3 separate regions of the Homo sapiens genome follow, and regions 1 and 2 are each linked to region 3. The links are contacts of gene promoters, found by promoter capture Hi-C in blood cells and fetal thymus (Javierre and others, 2016). All regions are on one chromosome and are shown on one strand. The core of a region is centred on a gene start or on the middle of the fragment in contact, and the rest is flanking DNA. Distances in the headings are between cores, read along the strand shown.

The links. The method cuts DNA at HindIII sites, captures the fragments that hold promoters and counts their contacts. A CHiCAGO score of 5 or more calls a contact.
Region 1: the fragment with the promoter of FLCN here is called in contact with a fragment that was not itself captured in region 3 in 1 of 17 cell types (fetal thymus); the score reaches 5.3 in fetal thymus.
Region 2: a contact is called between the fragment with the promoter of COPS3 here and a fragment that was not itself captured in region 3, in 1 of 17 cell types (erythroblasts). The highest score is 5.4, in erythroblasts.

Annotation. Positions count from the first base shown.
Region 1 is chr17:17,235,805-17,238,504 of GRCh38, forward strand. It overlaps FLCN (folliculin), which reads right to left and starts at 1,364. Exons shown (of 14, transcript NM_144997.7): 1 at 1,108-1,364. RefSeq lists an enhancer at 1,581-1,690 and a silencer at 2,125-2,310. The HindIII fragment of the contact is 3,806 bases long and covers 20-2,700 here.
Region 2 is chr17:17,279,908-17,282,607 of GRCh38, forward strand. It overlaps COPS3 (COP9 signalosome subunit 3), which reads right to left and starts at 1,339. Exons shown (of 12, transcript NM_003653.4): 1 at 1,225-1,339. The coding sequence starts at 1,279. RefSeq lists enhancers at 727-786, 1,437-1,536 and a silencer at 977-1,216. The HindIII fragment of the contact is 7,073 bases long and covers 1-2,700 here.
Region 3 is chr17:17,588,869-17,591,568 of GRCh38, forward strand. It overlaps PEMT (phosphatidylethanolamine N-methyltransferase), which reads right to left. Exons shown (of 7, transcript NM_148172.3): 1 at 2,663-2,700. Among named protein-coding and RNA genes, the nearest start is that of PEMT, 1.5 kb to the right of the region's middle. RefSeq lists enhancers at 2,285-2,700, 2,592-2,700. The HindIII fragment of the contact is 969 bases long and covers 939-1,907 here.

The DNA.
Region 1 (2,700 bases), core at 114-2,613, 350 kb before region 3:
CACGAGTCTGTTTCCAACAAGCTTTCCAGAACCCACATAGGAAGCCGAAATGCCCTGGCTGACAGTCTCTTCATCAACATATCCAAAGACAGTATTCAAATTCCCTGATGTGGTAGAGTGTCTGTTCATGTCCCCCTCCCACAATGGCTGAGTCCCAGACCTGGACAGTGACCTCACCACCACCCGTGGTGCGCCCTGGCCCTATTTCAACCCTACTTCCTATGGTGTTCTCATAGCACCGTGGAGAATTAAAGAGGCCACTAAGTAAGGGCACTCTAAATAAACAAAGCACTATAACGGATCTTAACCAGCAGTGGACACACAGCTTCTATAACTAGTCTCCCACTGGGGAGCCTCATTAAGTTAGCAGCTGGGATCCCAACAAGCCCAGGGTGAAAAGTTCTGCAGGGGATGACTGCCAGTTCAGATCCACTCTCACTGTGGCTCTATTTCCACCGTTTCCCTGGATTTCCATTCACAGAGCTCCCTGACATAGGACACTAGAAGGGCAAACGCAGTGTCACCTGCCACTATTACTCAATTACTTGATGACCACGGTGATAATCTGGCACTAAACTGGCTGTGGCCAAAGGCTAGAGAGCCAGAACCTACTTCCAGCAAGCTCCTCCTTGCCCTGTGTCCCCACTTGAAGAGACTGCTAGTGACCACACCTTGGACTTCAATCCACAAGCCAATCCATTCTTTCCAGGAGACAAGGACGCGACTGACAGTACTCTCAACTGGAGAGAAGCGCGGTCTTCCACCCTCCCTGGAGGACACGGTGCTACCCTATTAGCGCATCAGAGGACCCTCCTGAACGCCAAACTGGGAGAAGAGGATGACACACACCCTCTCCTCCAAACAGAGCGAAGACAAAACCTGGGAGAAGGGAAGGCAAACAGTCCCGTTTCATGGCAACATCAAATGAGATCACAGTCCTCATCCCCATAGACTTGGTTAATGGGCGTGCCCCCAACCTATCTTCAAATCTCAGGGTCTCGGCGACGCCCTGGACTCTGGCCCTAAACCCTCCCCCATTACTCGTCCACCTGGGACCAACGAAAACTCGGACATGCCCCTCCGCCAACCCCTCAGACCCCCGCCTACCTGCTCCCCAAATCGAGGCCCGCGGGACACCTGGACTCGGCAGCCGGGGTCCCGCTCTGGGTCCCAGCCCCGCCCCTGACTGCGCTGGGTAGGTGGTCGCTGCGGGACCCGGACCGGCGGAATCACACCCAGAGCCCCCAAGCCCACGGCAGGGATGTCACCCGGGGTGGCGAGGCTCTCAAGCCCGGGTTCAGGCTCTCAGGGGAGCTGGCAGAACCAGGAGCGACCACACTCACTCGCGGTCCCGCAGCCCCGCCGACACCCAGGCGCGTGACTCCCTGAGCCGTACCACCACCCAACACTGCGGTGGGGGTGCGGGAGCCGTCCGAGCGCGTCCTGCACCGCGAGGAGAGCCGGGCCTCCCTAGCTCTCGCAAGCCCAGGAACACAGTCCGAGTCCTACAACTCCGAGGTCTGACTGGGAAGCAGGGGCCGCTGCCCGACAATTACCCTTTTCCACCGCCCCTATTCCGGTGCCCCCCTCTGGGAAGTTCCGAATGGTTCAGACCGCACCAGCTGGGGATGCTGGGGGAAACCATTTCATTAAGCGCGGGAGTATGCTGAAACTTAAAAATCATTTTAAAAAGAGATTTGAGGGTAAATATAGCCAACCTAAGGCTTCCTGTCCACATAAAAGAGAAAAATAAAGAAAAAACGTTATAAGAGGTTGGCAGGCTTTTTTTTTTTGCTTCACCAATGGTTTTTATTAAATTGCTGATGGAACCCGTCCTCTCCCTACATTGAGAGTATGGAAGGTGCGGGAGACGGCCGTCACGTGACGCGGAGAAGGCGCGGCGCCCGTGGGAGGTTGGTTGCAGAACTCGGAACCGCTGTGCGCGCGCATGTGTGGGATTCGGTCTTCCTCCCTCAGTGGGTCTTTTTTAAAAATGTGAAAATCAGTTTTTGAATAATATTCTTTTTTTGAGACAGAGTTTCGCTTTCGCTCTTGTTGCCCAGGCTGGAGTCCAGTGGCGCGACCTCGCCTTACTGCAACCTCCGCTTCCCGGGTTCAAGCGATTCTCCTGCCTCAGCCTCCCGAGTAGCTGGGGACTACAGGCGTCCGCCACCACGCCTGGCTAATTTTTTGTATTTTTGCAGAGACGGGTTTTCACCCTTTTGGCCAGGCTGGTCTTGAACTCCTAACCTCAGGTGATCCACCAGCCTCGGCCTCCCAAAGTGCTGGGATTACAGGCGTGAGCCACCGCGCCCGGCCTGAATAATATTTTTTAAAACTAGAGCGCCCATTACTAAATTTAGCTACTTAGAAGTTAATTGTAAAGCCATTAGTTTGTGATGTAGTGTGGGTCCTTCCAGTGAAGACCGGAGAGAGATGGGAATCAGAGCCTGACCCGCCTGTGCGCGCTGCCCCCTGAGGTGTGGCTGCCCCCTGAGGTGTGGCCGCCCCGGAGCCTTCCGCCGCGGCCGAGGCTATGGTTGCCGCAGAGTCTCCAGAATGTGCTCACCAGGAATAGAATAGAAAAGTGGGTGGTTGTGTTTTTGAAATCAGAAGTCACTTATTTTTTTCTCTTTAAATTTCCATGTTCTGGTCGGGCGCGGTGGCTCACGCCTATAATATCCCAACACTTTGGGAGGC
Region 2 (2,700 bases), core at 89-2,588, 310 kb before region 3:
ACGCAATGAATGAACCAAACAACCTGGAAAGTGCGAGTAAAATCATCACAATTCTACCCCTAGAAATGGAGTCCTGGCCGGGCGCAGTGGCTCACGCCTGTAATCCTAGCACTTTGGGAGGCCGAGGTGGGCGGATCACTTCAGGTGAGGAGTTCGAAACCAGCTTGGCCAACATGGTAAAAACCCCATCTCTATTAAAAATACGAAAAAATTAGCCGCGTGGGCTGGCCGCGGTGGCTCATGCCTGTAATCCCAGCACTTTGGGAGGCCGAGGCCAGTGGATCACCTGAGATCAAGGTTCGAGACCAGCCAGGCCAACATGGTGAAACCCTGTCTCTACTAAAAATACAAAAATTAGCCGGGCAGGCGCCTGTAATCCCAGCTACTCGGGAGGCTGAGACAGGAGAATCGCTTGAACCTCGAAGGCGAAGGTTGAGGTGAGCCGAGACCGCGCCACTGCACTCCAGCCTGGGAGACAGTGAGACTCCGTCTCAAAAAAAAAAAAAGCCGTGTGAGCTGGCGGGCGCCTGTAATCTCAGCTACTCGGGAGGCTGAGACAGGAGAATCGCTTGAAGCCGGGAGGCTGAGGTTGCAGTGAGCCGAGATCGCGCCACTGCACTCCAGCCTCGGCTAAAAAAAAACAAAGAAGAAGAAATGGAGTCCTACGAGCGAGAGCTTCCGCAGCATTCTGTAGGACCAAAATAGGCGCACAGGTTCCCGAGCGTGCGCCGCCTGGCAGCGGAGGAGCTGGCAGAGGCGAGCCATAGAGCCAAGACACCCAGAACGGACTCGCCTCCCGCCCGCTCCCGGCGGCCTAGTCAGCAAGCTGCGGATCGGCGGCAAAGATGACATGGCGGTGCGCCAATCACCGAAGGCAAGAGAGACAGAAGGAACCAATAGTCGCCCGAGATGGCTCCTGGCGGAAGTCACGCCCCCAAACTGTCAAGCAAAGCGCCCGGTGGAAGGGGCCCAGGCCGGGGGGAGGGGGCTCCCGGCGGCCCGAGGGAGGGGAGGCCGGCCGGCGAGGACAGCGGAGCGCGAGGGGGCTGCCTACACTCGGCCGCGCTCGATCCTGCCCTGATCTAAACGCCGCAACCCCAAGCCCGGCCCCGGAGAAGAGTCTCAGGACTAAAAGGGCTGTTCCAGCCGTCCGTGCTGGCGCCTGGGGATCCAGGCCAGTTCCCGGTACCCGCCCATGCCCAGCCCGGCGGCCTAGGGCGTTACCTTGAGCTGAGAGCTGTCGGACACTGTTCACGAACTGCTCCAGGGCAGACGCCATGTTTTCCCCCGGGCGGCCCGAGCGGCGAAGGCAGCACGCGCGGGAAAAGGCTGCCGCTCTGGGAGGAGGGGCCGCGGCGATCCACCTGAGGTCCTCGCGAGCGGCGACGTCACTTCCGCTGGTTCAAGCACCGCGAGACTATACCTAGCTGCCCACCCGTTACTGTTTCCATGGAAACAGCCTGAATTCGCCGTAGCCGGAAATTAGTGTTCCATAGTCCCCTGCATCTTTATTCACTGCACTTCTGAAATCCCTCCGCAGGTTAAATGGGGATAGTGGGCAAAAGAAGGAAGGAAACTCATAATTAAGCAAGTATTTTCTGGTTCTGGATTTTGCTAGAGAGGCCCTGCGGTTTTCCACCTGGACAGATACTTCAATGAAGCACAACTTCGTTGCCACGTCTCCCGTGAGGTTTTCCCCGTGATATTAGACTCTGGAGCCAAGCAGCCTGGGTTCAACTGCCTTTTCTACCACTTAGTAGCTGTGTGACGTTGAGCGGGTCACTTGACTGTCGTGTGCATTGTTTTCCCCATCTGTAAAATCTTAGTGTCCTTAACCACGTAAAACACTTAGGACAGTGCATAGGACGTAGGGAGAACTATAGTTATTCATTCAAGGTGTACGTTGAATGAATCGATCCCTTCCCTGCAAAAAATAAATAAATAAGTAACACCACACACAGAAAGTGAATTGATTTTTCCCATCTGGGATTGATGTCTCCCTCCTCCGCTTGTCGCCTAAAGCACTTTGTTCTTCTCATGTTGCACTTCTACTCTGTTACAGAAATGTGTCTCTATAGTCCATGTGATATCTGTAAACCAAAAATAAAAGTCTAAGCCCCCCAACTGACTGGTGGACCCTATCTGAAGCCAAGGACATTCCAATTTATCCTGAAAAACTAGTTCAGGCCATGATGGGAAGTGGTAGTCAGACATGCCTCACAAACATCAACACAGAGACCTTAAGACTGGTAGACTCAAGACTGATAAGAAATATTTACAATCTATTCTGTCTGAATAGCAGGCTACCTGGAAGCCTCATCTGCATGATAAAACCTTGGTCTCCACAACCCCTTATAATCATAACCCAGATATTTCTTTCTATTTACTTCCAGGTCTTTAGATAATAACTCTTTCAACCAATTACCAATCAAAAAATCTTTAAGTCTACCTATAAGGTAGAAGCCCCCCACTGCCCCGAGTTAGCCCGTCTTTCCGATCCTAACCAACGTACATCTTACATGTATTGATCGATGACTCATGTCTCCCTAAAATGTATAAAACCAAACTGTACCCGCACCTTGGGCACATGTCCTGAGGAGCTCCTGAGGCCGTGTTATCATCGCATCCTTCACCTTGGCAATATAAACTTTCTCGATTGAGACTGGTCTCAGATACTTTTGGTTTACGGATCCATTGCTT
Region 3 (2,700 bases), core at 173-2,672:
GGGCAACAAGGAGCAAAAGGGCCTTAGTCAGTGGGGCTGCAGCGGGCACACTCCTCACCCTAACTCCTCAGCCCAATGGCTGATTCTTTGGGTTGTTTGTTTTTGTTTTGAGACAGAGTTTCGCTCTTCTAGCCCAGGCTGGAGTGCAATGGCGTGATATCAGCTCACTGCAACCTCCACCTACGGGGTTCAAGTGATTCTCCTGCCTCAGCCTCCCGAGTAGCTGGGATTACAGGCATGTGCCGCCACGCCTGGCTAACTTTTTATATTTTTAGTAGAGATGGGATTTCTCCATGTTGGTCAGGCTGGTCTCAAACTCCCGACCTCAGGTGATCCACCTGCTTTGGCCTCCCAGAGTGCTGGGATTACAGGCGTGAGCCACCGTGCCCAGCCCCAACAGCTGATTTTTTTTTTTTTTTTTTTAAAAACAAAAGCAAGATTCTGTACCTGCTGAAGCAGGCCCAGAAAAGAGCTGGTGGAGGGCATGGTACCCAGAGCAGCACTGTTTGGTATGACATGGCAGCCACTGGTCACAGGCAGTGCCACAAGCTTGGAATGCCACAGGACAAAATATGTCTGATATATATTTTGGTAACAATAAAATATATTGTCAAAATTATTTTTCTATTTCTTTGCTATTTTCCATTTCTTCTCACTAATTTAACATGGCTACTAGAAAGGTTTAAATTATGCATGTGGCACACGATGTTTCTACTGGACAGCACAGCAGCACAGGGCTAGCACCGGAGATCCTGCAGCTCAGACGCCCATGGGGTGAACAAAAACCTTGCAACTCTCCCAGGCCAGGGACTGACATATTTTAAAACCGGAGATTTTGATTGAGGAGGGAGTAGAGCTACCACATAAGCAAATATGTAATGTTGTATGTTGTATGTTTCTTTCTTTCTTTCTTTAAGAAAAATCCCTTGGCAACAGGAAGCTTAACTGCACCAACAAGGACAGCAGAAGAAAAGCAGAATGTTAGTCAACAAGGGTCACCCTGACCCGAACCCCAGCCCCAGCTCTCTCCAGCTGCACAGCCCTGGGGAGAAAGGAGAAAGAGCAGAGAAGCCCACCCCTCACACACCCGGTTAGTCTCCCCTGCCCACTGGCAGGCCCTGGGGCAGGCCCCTAGATGGGTCTGCAAAGGGACACTGCCCCCTTGCATTCTGCCCCCCCTTCTACATGGCTCCCCCACCCACCCTTCTACACGGTGGCTTCTGAGGGCAGCCCCTGGAGGTGATCATGACCCCCCATCTTGATCTGAGGATTAACAGATACAGGTTCACCTGGTGAAAATGCAGGAGCTGTAGGGGTAGGACCCATCACTCATCTGACTGCATGTTGTAATTCAATGGACAGTTTACTAAAGTAATAGTCTTCTTCCTGTCCTCTGCTGAGCACCCATCTGGCCAACGGTCCTGCGCTCCCTCAGGGCCAGCGGCCCATCTCCTCCTGTGCCTCCTGGAGGGCTTCGCAACTGCCTCCCTCCTCTGGGGAATCTTGCCCCACTGACTGACCTTTCGGCTCTCAGATCCCAGGTCCCTCCCTCGCAGATACGGCAACAGGCTCTCTTGGGATTTCAATCCCGCCTTCCCATCAGCTACTCTTCAAAACACTAACTGGTATTAGCTCCTTCAGAGAACTCTCTGGCTTTCCAGGCCTACAATCTCCCTCCCTAGAATGAAAGCTCAGTGACAGAAGTGCCCTTAAACTTCTGAGTGACACGAGGCCCTCAGCCGGCCCTGAATCAATACTGGCTGGATCAGTGAGTGAATAAATGCACATGTGAGTAAGGAATGAAGGGAGCGAAAGAACTGGATTAGAAGCTGCTTGGGGCAGAGATGTGCCTTACAGGCTTCATGAAGAGTGGGTGATGAAAAAGGTAAATGGAGCATCTAAGAGGAAGCTTTGATAGAAGGGAGAATGCAAGAGAGGTTGGAAATTGGAATCCATTGGAATTGGGAGCCTGGGGAGATGCCAGGACAGGCACTCTCTGGCCTAGGACTCTGCAGAGGGCAGCCTCAGCAGGCAAGCCAGGCCCCCAGCTTCTGGGGCCGGTCGCACCCATTATGGCCCCGAAACGGCTGGGTGGTGGTCTGCAGCCTGCCCAGGGCCGGCTGGGAGACAGGCAGGGTCCCCACCACTCTCTTGCCTCTGGGCAAAAGCTGGCCTCCTGACCCTGGGGGATGGACGGGAGCAGGGGCCACACAACACACTCCCAAACATATAATCGGCCTCCTTCACCCTCGCCCACGCTCAGTCACACACAGCCTCGGTCATACACACTCACACTCACTCTCCGGCACACTCTCAGAGCATCACATAATTTCAGTGAGACACAATCCCAAAGACTAACACGGACAACCTCTGAGTCTCACACAATCTCAGGGCCACACACAGGCACACAATCAGACGAGCTCAGGAACGCCCCCGTCTCTGACACACGCAATCTGAGGTTTACACGCGCGCGCACACGCACACACACAGACACCAGCCGGCGCTCCCGCACGCGGCTCCCCCACCCCCGCCACGCCACGCCCCCATTGCCTGGGAACTGGCGGCCCCGCCCCGCAGCGTTTGAGGCGCCGCAAGCCTTCACGCCCCTCGGGCCTTGCAGATCCCTCTCCCAGTTTCCGCGGCGGTCCGGTGCGGTCAGTACCTGTCTAAAATCAATATTGCCGAGGCCTCCGCAGCAGT